2 separate regions of the Homo sapiens genome follow, and region 2 is linked to region 1. Evidence: promoter capture Hi-C in 16 types of primary human blood cells and fetal thymus (Javierre and others, 2016). All regions are on one chromosome and are shown on one strand. Each heading gives the region's core, a stretch centred on a gene start or on the middle of the fragment in contact. The rest is flanking DNA. Distances are from core to core; before and after follow the strand shown.

What was found. Contacts are between HindIII fragments. The CHiCAGO score rates a contact against its expected background, and 5 or more counts as called.
Region 2: a contact is called between a fragment that was not itself captured here and the fragment with the promoter of SHROOM1 in region 1, in 1 of 17 cell types (monocytes). The highest score is 5.1, in monocytes.

The regions. Positions count from the first base shown.
Region 1 is chr5:132,828,549-132,832,815 of GRCh38, reverse strand. It overlaps SHROOM1 (shroom family member 1), which reads left to right and starts at 2,169. Exons shown (of 10, transcript NM_001172700.2): 1 at 2,169-2,222. RefSeq lists silencers at 1,861-2,280, 2,491-2,800. The HindIII fragment of the contact is 14,647 bases long and covers 1-4,267 here.
Region 2 is chr5:132,276,440-132,280,483 of GRCh38, reverse strand. It overlaps LOC124901063 (a long non-coding RNA gene), which reads left to right and starts at 2,734. Exons shown (of 2, transcript XR_007058934.1): 1 at 2,734-2,777; 2 at 2,996-3,087. RefSeq lists an enhancer at 1,501-2,313 and a silencer at 2,974-3,268. The HindIII fragment of the contact is 1,375 bases long and covers 563-1,937 here.

The DNA.
Region 1 (4,267 bases), core at 920-3,419:
TGCTTAGTGTGTGCAAGAGGTGAGTGGTAGGTGGGTGGAGTGGGTTAATAAGAATCGCTCTGGACTGCGTCCTCATGGTCCCTAGCAGAGAGGTGCTGTAGTGTGTGCAAGAGGTGAGTGGTAGGTGGGTGGAGTGGGTTAATAGAATTGTTCTGGACACTGTGTCCCCATAGTTTTCAAGAAATATAAGTAAAAAACATAACCATTTTTTTTTTTTTTGAGACAGAATCTCACTCTGTTGCCCAGGCTGGAATGAAGTAGCGTGATCTCGGCAGACTGCAGCCTATGCCTCCTCGGTTCAAGCGATTCTTGTGCCTAGGCCTTCCAAGTAGCTGGGACTACAGGTGCGTGCCACCACGTCCAGCTATTTTTTTTTGTATTTTTGTAGAGACAGGGCTTCGCCATGTTGCCGAGGCTGGTCTCGAACTCCTGAGCTCAAGCAATCTGCCCACCTTGGCCTCCCAAAGTGCTGGGATTACAGGCATGAGCCACCGCCCCAGCCAACATGAGCAATTAAAAATTTTTTGTTGTTGTTTGCTGGGCTGTCTTTCTTCTATTTTGATGCTGCTGTGAGACTCTGTGGATCAGGGTCTTAAAAATATTAAAAGTCTTTCAGGCCGGGTGCGGTAGCTCATGCCTGTAATCCAGCACTTTGGGAGGCCAAGGTGGGTGGATCACCTGAGGTCACGAGTTTGAGACCAGCCTGGCCAACATGGCGAACCCCGTCTTTACTAAAAATACAAAAATTAGCTGGGCGTGGTGCCCGGTGCCTGTAATCCCAGCTACTTGGGAGGCTGAGGCAGGGAAAATTGCTTGAACCTGGGAGGCGCAGGTTTCAGTGAGCAGAGATCCGGCCACTGCACTCCAGCCTGGGCGACAGAGGGAGACTCTGTCTCAAAAAAGCAAAACAAACAACAAAAGTCTTTCAAAGCCGAAAGGTTCTTAGGCACTGTCTTAAAGCCTAGCGCTCCAGCTGAAGCTGGTGCCTGAGTCCAGATGGTGTTGAAGAAGGAGCAGGGCCCAGCGGGCACCACTCTCAGAAGTCGGGCTCAGGTGTCTCCTGCCTCCGAACCCAAGAAGACCCAAGAAGACAGAGTTCCTCAGGCTCCCAGTGTCCCTAGGAAGTGGCAACCTTGACTCTTGGCCAGAGTTCAGAGTCCTGGTTATTAACACCAATAAACCTTTATTTGCCAGGGATACTACCATGGGAGGACACAGCCCCTGAGCCCAGCCCTGTTGATCCTGTGGGAGCGGGAGGGCAGCGGAGGACAAAGGCAGAGACCTGAGAGCCGGAGAGGCTCATCAAAGGGTCCCCAGCCCCTCTCAGGAACGGAGCATTTCTTGGCAGAGTGGTATTCATAGGACAGAGTTTGGGAAGTCGGGGCAGGGGAGCCTGAGGACACAGCAAGGAGAGCTCAGTGGCAGGTGCAGGCAGAGCGTTCTTTGGAAAATGGAGATCCTGGAAGGTGAGGGCCTCGAGCGCCAGTGTCCAGCCTTAGTGGGTATGCATATGTCCAGCTCCCTAAGGACACACTCAGGACAGCTAAGGTGCACACAAGTCCAGGGGCTTCCCCGTGCTCCGCCCCCCTCTCCCCCACCCCGGTAGCAGGCTGGAGGGCCCAGACCATGCTGGGTAGTGGGAGAAATGGAAAGAAATGGGACAGGGAACAGGAGACAAGAGCCCATGGTGGGAGTCAAAGAGCTGGAAGAGTTTTGGAAATGGGGGTCTGGGGGTAGAGTTGATCAAGGGCCGAGTTACTCAGCGGGACAGGTGGGAGGCACGAGGCCCTGGCAGCTCTGTTTTCTTGGCCGGGCTTGGGGGGGAAAGCGGGTAGCCGTCAGGCGCCTAAGGGCCCGCCCTGGACCTCCCCACCGAGGGAGGTGTCAGGCCCCGAGGGACCCGGCCCCCGAGCATCACGGACGCGCTGGAGGCCGGTGGGCGGTCGCCGTAGTCGCCCTCCCACCACCTCGCTCAGGTTTCTCCGGCCTGGGGCAAGAGGCCTGTGGCCCGCGCGGGAACGCACTGTCCACCCTCAGACCTGGGACTGGGCCGGCGCGCGGACGCTACCAAGAGGCTGCGGCTCCCGCCCCCGCGGCCGGACGTGGCGCCTCCCCTGAGGCCGCGGCCGGAGCCTGGAGGTGGGGTCGGAGTCAGAGCCCGGGGCTCTGATGTCACCGCGCGGCTGCGACGGCCCAGGAGCGCGTCTCGGCGGGAGCCTCAGGTACGCGGCGGGGGCGGGGGAGCGGGAAGCGGGCGGCTGGGTCCGCTTCCCCCGGGAGGCCGGCGGGGCTGCGGGCGGACGGGGGTGAAGAGCGGGCGGCGAGGCGGTGGTCGCGGGGCAGCCCGGGCATCGTTCGGCCGGGACGTGTCTGGCTCGGCGCCGCGTCAGGTTGCGCCAGTGGAGTCGGACCCCAGCGCGCCTCTCCCAGCTGCAGAGCTGCAGGGCGGAGAGGCGGCCCACTCTAAGCTGGCGGCGCGGCTCAGGGGCGCGGCTGGGCGCGCCGCGTGTGGCGCCGGCGGGCAGCGCGGTCTCACTCCGCCACCCTCCGCTCCTGCCCTTTGTCGCCAAGCATCTGGAGAAGCCGGGTCCTTCCCTCCCGGGCTCGCGCTGTCCCCTGCGCGCGATCCTTCCCCGACGGTGAACCCAACGGGAAAGGCCCAGAACTGCGCGGGGCTGCGGCCATCTGCTGTCGAGCCGCTCCGCGTGTCTCTGCCGCCCCCTGCGGCCGCCGGGGCCTGCGCCTCTCTCCCTCCCGTGCCTCGGCTCCCAGAGATTGAACCCCAGGTAACCGGGTCTGTCCACGCCCGCGGCCGCCTCTCCCCGGGTGTCGCCAGCTTCCTGCATTTCCTGTGCATGGCACGGAGCTCGGGTCTCCAGAGACTCTGCATCTGGGGTGCAGCGACCGATGAGCCCGTAAACCAGTCGCACACTCGGAGCGTGGATGCTGCGTGGGGTGCGCTGTCAGCGCGGACAGGCTGGGAGAACGGGGGACGCTGGGGACAGGGAGAGCCGGTGAACTTCCCAGAACGTCCGCCTAGCCAGACCCAGCTGCGGGTACTGGGTTTTGAGACGTGGTCCAGTACCCAGGAACTCAGTCTGACAGGGAGACAGCGCCTACACAGTGAGCCCAGTACTGAGGGAAGACCCGCTGGGAGGGGCGGCCTGGATAGCCCCTCCACAGAGAGGTCAGATGTGAGGTGGCCTTGAGGGAGGTATGATGTAAATCCTGATCATTCGTTGTATTTGAGGCTGTCCGTTCTCCTGTGCCTCCTCGGTCGCCTTACTTGGATCTGTTCCCATTGCCTTGGTGTGATTTTATCCACCGGAAACTGTCTTCAGCTATTTCCCCAGTAACCTCTAACTAAAAACCTGGGTCTTGCCTGGTCTACCCTCCCCTGCTGAACTCCAGAGCCACATCCCAACTGCTGCCTGACTTGTCACAGACACCATGAAGCCCAGACTGAAGGAGCACTGGCCCCCTTGACAATTCCTCAGCCCCAGCTCCTCCTTTCAGACTGGTGCCTCCACCTGCCAGACCCCTAGCTTTGAAGGCCAATCTCATCTTCGTCTCCTTCCTCTCTGGCTCCTTCATTCAGGTGACAAGTATACATCAAATGCCCACCCCAACTCCCCCTCCCAGGACTCCAATCTGGTGTCTTTCTAGCGGGGAGTCTAGGTTGCTCCCTCTGCTCTGGAGAGGCTTGGCAAAATGCCTGCAGAGCTCCTTGAGCTCCACCTCTGAACTCCCTTTCAGCAGCCGGCACAGGCATAACAGCCCAGCCCACAGGTACCACTGCCACTGAGGCAGGGACCCCTAAGGTAGGGCTACCCCCAGCCACAGGGGCTGGCTGGACTGCAAGAGGCTCCCTGCAGCCAGACAAGTATGAAAATGCCTTGTTGTTTTGTGCTGAGGCCCCCCAAAACACACCAAAGCAGCTGGGCCCTCTTGGCATGGTAGGTTCTGCAAAGCACCCACTGTGAGGAGCCTGCGTGAACATCAACCTGATAGGGCCACCAGTGCAAAAGCATCTTCAACAAGTTACAGTCAATAAGGAAACACATGTGTAGACACATTTTTATTGCCCATTCAAGCTGTTTTTATTTGCTGAATTCAGAATCCTTTAACATAGTAACTCACAAATAAGATAGATTTTCATAGATTTTCAAGACCTCTTTTGAGGAAACATCTTGTGTTTGGTGATCCCCATCTGTAGCTGCAGCAAGCCAAAATGGGCAGGATGGGTGACATGAGCTAGTGCTCCCAA
Region 2 (4,044 bases), core at 1-2,500, 550 kb after region 1:
CTGAAGGGGAGGAGTGGCTCCTTGACTGGGCCAGGTGGCCTCTGATCACTGTCCTCCCAGAACAAGTCCAGTGTGGCTGGAGTAAGAGCACAAAAGGAGGGTAGGGACAGTTTAGAAGGGATGTGGTTATTAGACAGCGCAAACAGCACAAACAACCCTAGACAATGAGCATCTGGGGAGGAATGGAGGAGCTAGGACAGGGCCTTGAGGAGTGGTGCCTCAGGGGCAGGCAAGAGAGTGGACAGGAACACTGGCTGGGAAGGCACAGGGTGACAGGACTGAGGAGAAAGAGACTTCTTCCACCCAGAAATCTCTTTCTGGGTGGTGAGACAGTCTCCAGCAATTGGAGAGAGAGCCCTGGGGGCTGGGAAGGGGCCAGTCCAGGCTGTCTCTCAGCAGGCTCCTGGAACCACGGAGGGTCAGTGAGTGGTGGGGATGACCCATTTAGCCGGGATCATGACCAGACGAGTGAGTCAAGCAGGCATGGTGGTAGGTTCATGCATATCAGAGTTGGTGATCAGGTGCTGTGGCACCAGCCTTGTCCACACTCAGATCCAAAGCTTCAGGGGTCACCTTTACTTTGTCCAGCTTCCACCATTCCATGCCCCATGCAAAAAGTTGGTAAGGTTGAGCCTGCACTCTGGGCTGTTCTGGGGACTTGCCAAGTGGAAACAGATCAGCACCCTTCAGAAATGGCTTGGTCAGAGTCACTAAACCATTGGTAGGCAGGCAACACTCTCCATGGAAGACTGGTATGCGCCGTTACTTTGGTTGCCCCTGCCATGGAGATTTGCTAGGGTGTGTGTGACCTTGGCAAGTTTTTTAACCTTTCTGAGCTCATCCATAAAATGGGGATAATAACCATACTTCCTTTCTGGTTGGTATGAGGATTAAAAACAATCATATCGTTCACTAAGGGCTTGGAGATGAAGGCCTGGGACACATTAGCTCCCATAATAGTTATTATCCAACTCCCTTCCCTTCTTCTGAGACTGTGGGTGTGCTCCAGCTTCCCATGAAAATTCAATTACAGACCAAGAACACCCTGGATGGCAGCTGAGTGTTCTTGCACTGCAGCCATTGTCAGTGAAGCTGGTGTGTGTGTGTGTGTGTGTGTGTGTGCGCGCGCGCGCGCGCGTGGGTGTCGGGGGTGGTGCATCAGCCTCTGAGCTTGGCTCACCGGGCCTGACAGACCCACTTAAGGGCTGGTTAATGCGGTTTCTGAGCCCACATGGCTGAGACCGACTCCAGACCCTGCAGGACCCAGTGAGGTCTCTAGCAGTCTCTCCTGGGATTTCTAGTCTCTGCATTCCAGCCACAAATGGATCTATGTCAGACACTAGCAAAGTTGAGGTTTGGTTTCTGTAGGGACCCAAATAGTTTCCCACTTGTGGTAGAGGGGACACAGGAGGACAGTGCTTGCTTATTAGAGAAACCTCTTCACTACCCTTAAACCTTTTTAGAGGTTCCACCTCCATTCAGAGGTGCTGTGGGAATGTTGTTAGAAAGACAGATTATTCTGTGAGAAAATGATAAACCAGGAAGTTACATGAAAAGCAAGTCAGGGGTCGGCCTGGGGTGCAAGACAAGAAGTTGGGTAAGAATGAGTTGTCCAGGATAGCACTGGAGTGCACGTAGCTGGACAGGGGCACCCAGAGGTGGAGGGGAGGTGGGGCACTCCCCAGGTGGGGCAGAGGGACTCAGGGCCCACAGCCCAGGCTTCTGGGCATCATGGTGTTGTGCAAGTCACAACACTGCTCCCACCCATCCAACTCAGCAGTTCAAGGGCTGTGAGCCCAGGGCCAAGCTAGCACACCCCCTAGAGGGGCTGAGTCCTTGGCCATGAAGGGAGGGCTGGCTTGAAGCTGCATCTGGGCTCCGCCTACCTTCACCCCTTTCTTTGGTTCTCTAGGAGGAAAGTATCAAATAACAAAGCTTGTCACTCAGAGAACCAGAAAGGACTCCATTTGTGTTTCAACCTCCTTGGAGGGTCAAGGAAGCCTGCAAGAGTCTTGAGGAGAGTTTGATGGGGCTGAACTTACAGATAAGCACAATGAGAGTTACAGAGGCACAAGTTGTCCACAGAGGCCAGCAGGGGCTGTGTACCTCATGTGGCCCTGTGAGCTGGGATTTGGAATTTAGACTCTGTCCTAAGAGCAGTGAGGAGCCATGGAAACTATAATAGGCAAGATTGACAGGGAATTGCACTTGAAAAACCTCCTTTAGCTGTTATGTAGAGAAAGGATTGAGGGAGGGGCCAGGCAGGAGACAGGGAGACAAGGCAGAGGCCCTTACACTGTTCAGCATGAGACAGTGGCGTCTGGACTGGGGAGAGTGGGCTAGTTTGGAATTAGTTAGGGATGAACGCAGTCATGCTTGCTAACTGGTTTTACTGCGTCTACCTTTGCCCCTTAGGGCCTATTCTCCATACAGCAGACAATGTGATCCTAGTTAAAACATAATTCCAGGTCATGCCGCTCCTCTGGCTTTTCATCTCAGAGTAAAAGTCAAAGTCCTTACCATGGCTGTAGGAGAACAGCCTGTTGCGTGGCAAGAATGATGCTTTTTTTTTTTTTTAACAGGGTCTCACTCTGTTGCCTAGGCTCGAGTGCAGTGGCAAGATCATAGCTCACTGCAGCCTCGAACTCCTGGGCTCAAGGGGTCCTCCCACCTCAGCCTTCTGAGTAGTTTGGACTATAGGTGCATGCCGCCACAGCTGGCTATTTTTTTTTTCATTTTTATTTTTTCTAGAGAGGGGGTCTCGCTATGTTGCCCAGGTTAGTCTCAAACTCCTGGCCTTGAAAGATCCTCCCGCCTTGGCCTCCCAAAGTGCTGGGATTACAGGTGTGGGCCACTGTTCCAGGCCACTTGATCCAAAACCACCGTAATGACCAATGTTTGACCCCTAGATGCCAAGATATTCATCAGCAAGATCTTTAAACAATGCCTGTAGAATAGAAAACTCTTCATAAAGATGCTTATTTAACCTCTCCAGTGGTCACGAGTCTTGGCAAGAAAGTCTGAAGACGGGACCAGCTGCACATGTTTTACCCTAAGAGCTTGCTATATAAAGGATACTTTCTGGAAGGCTGGTTGGTGTGAGGATTCAGTCTTGCAGCCACTCGAGACATCACTTCTGTTCGTAAGTCCCTCTTATATATTTCTCTCTGAGAAAATGGATTTGTCAACCTCTTTCTTTGGCTTCTCAGCTCTCTCGGCCTTTGGGTTTGCATAGTCCTGCTATCCATGGAACAATGGCTCACAAGGGCCAACACAGCCTTGTCTCCCTCACATCTCTCTGACGACCTCATCTACTACTTCCAGCCACCTCACTTATACTACTTCAGTCACTGCTTGCCTAGGGCCTTAGGATTTCCTGTGCCCTCTGCCTGGAATGTAATCCCCCCAGATACCTGCACAGATGATATCTTACCACCTCAGTTCTCTGCCCAAATGTTACCTTATCTGTGAGGCCTTTCCAGATTCCATATATGAAGAGAATCCCTTATGCTCTACTGTAATGCCTTCTTTATTTCCTTGATAGCACTGCTTATAGCCTGTAGTTATTTTACATGTTCGTTCAAAATGTTTTCCTAGGGTGCAACACAATGCCTGGCATATAGAAGGTTCTTAATAGGTATTTTTGTTTTTTGAGACAGAGTCTTGCTCTGTCACCCACGCTGGAGTGCAGTGGCGTGATCTTGGCTCACTGCAACCTCCACGTCCTGGGTTCAAGCAAGTCTCCTGCCTCAGCCTCCTGAGCAGCTGGGACTACAGGTGATTGCCACCACACCGGGATAATTTTTGTATTTTTAGCAGAGACGGGGTTTTGCCATGTTGGCCAGACTGGTCTTGAACTCCTGGCCTCAAGTGATCCCCCCCACCTTGGCCTCCCAAAGTGCTGGGATTACAGGCGTGAGCCACTGTGCATGACCTTTTAATAAATATTTAGTTGACTGAGTGAGTTGAGGTTGAGGATGCAGGAGGGAGCAGGTGCCCTCCAGGACAGCAGTCCCCAACCTTTTCGGCACCAGGGACTGGTTT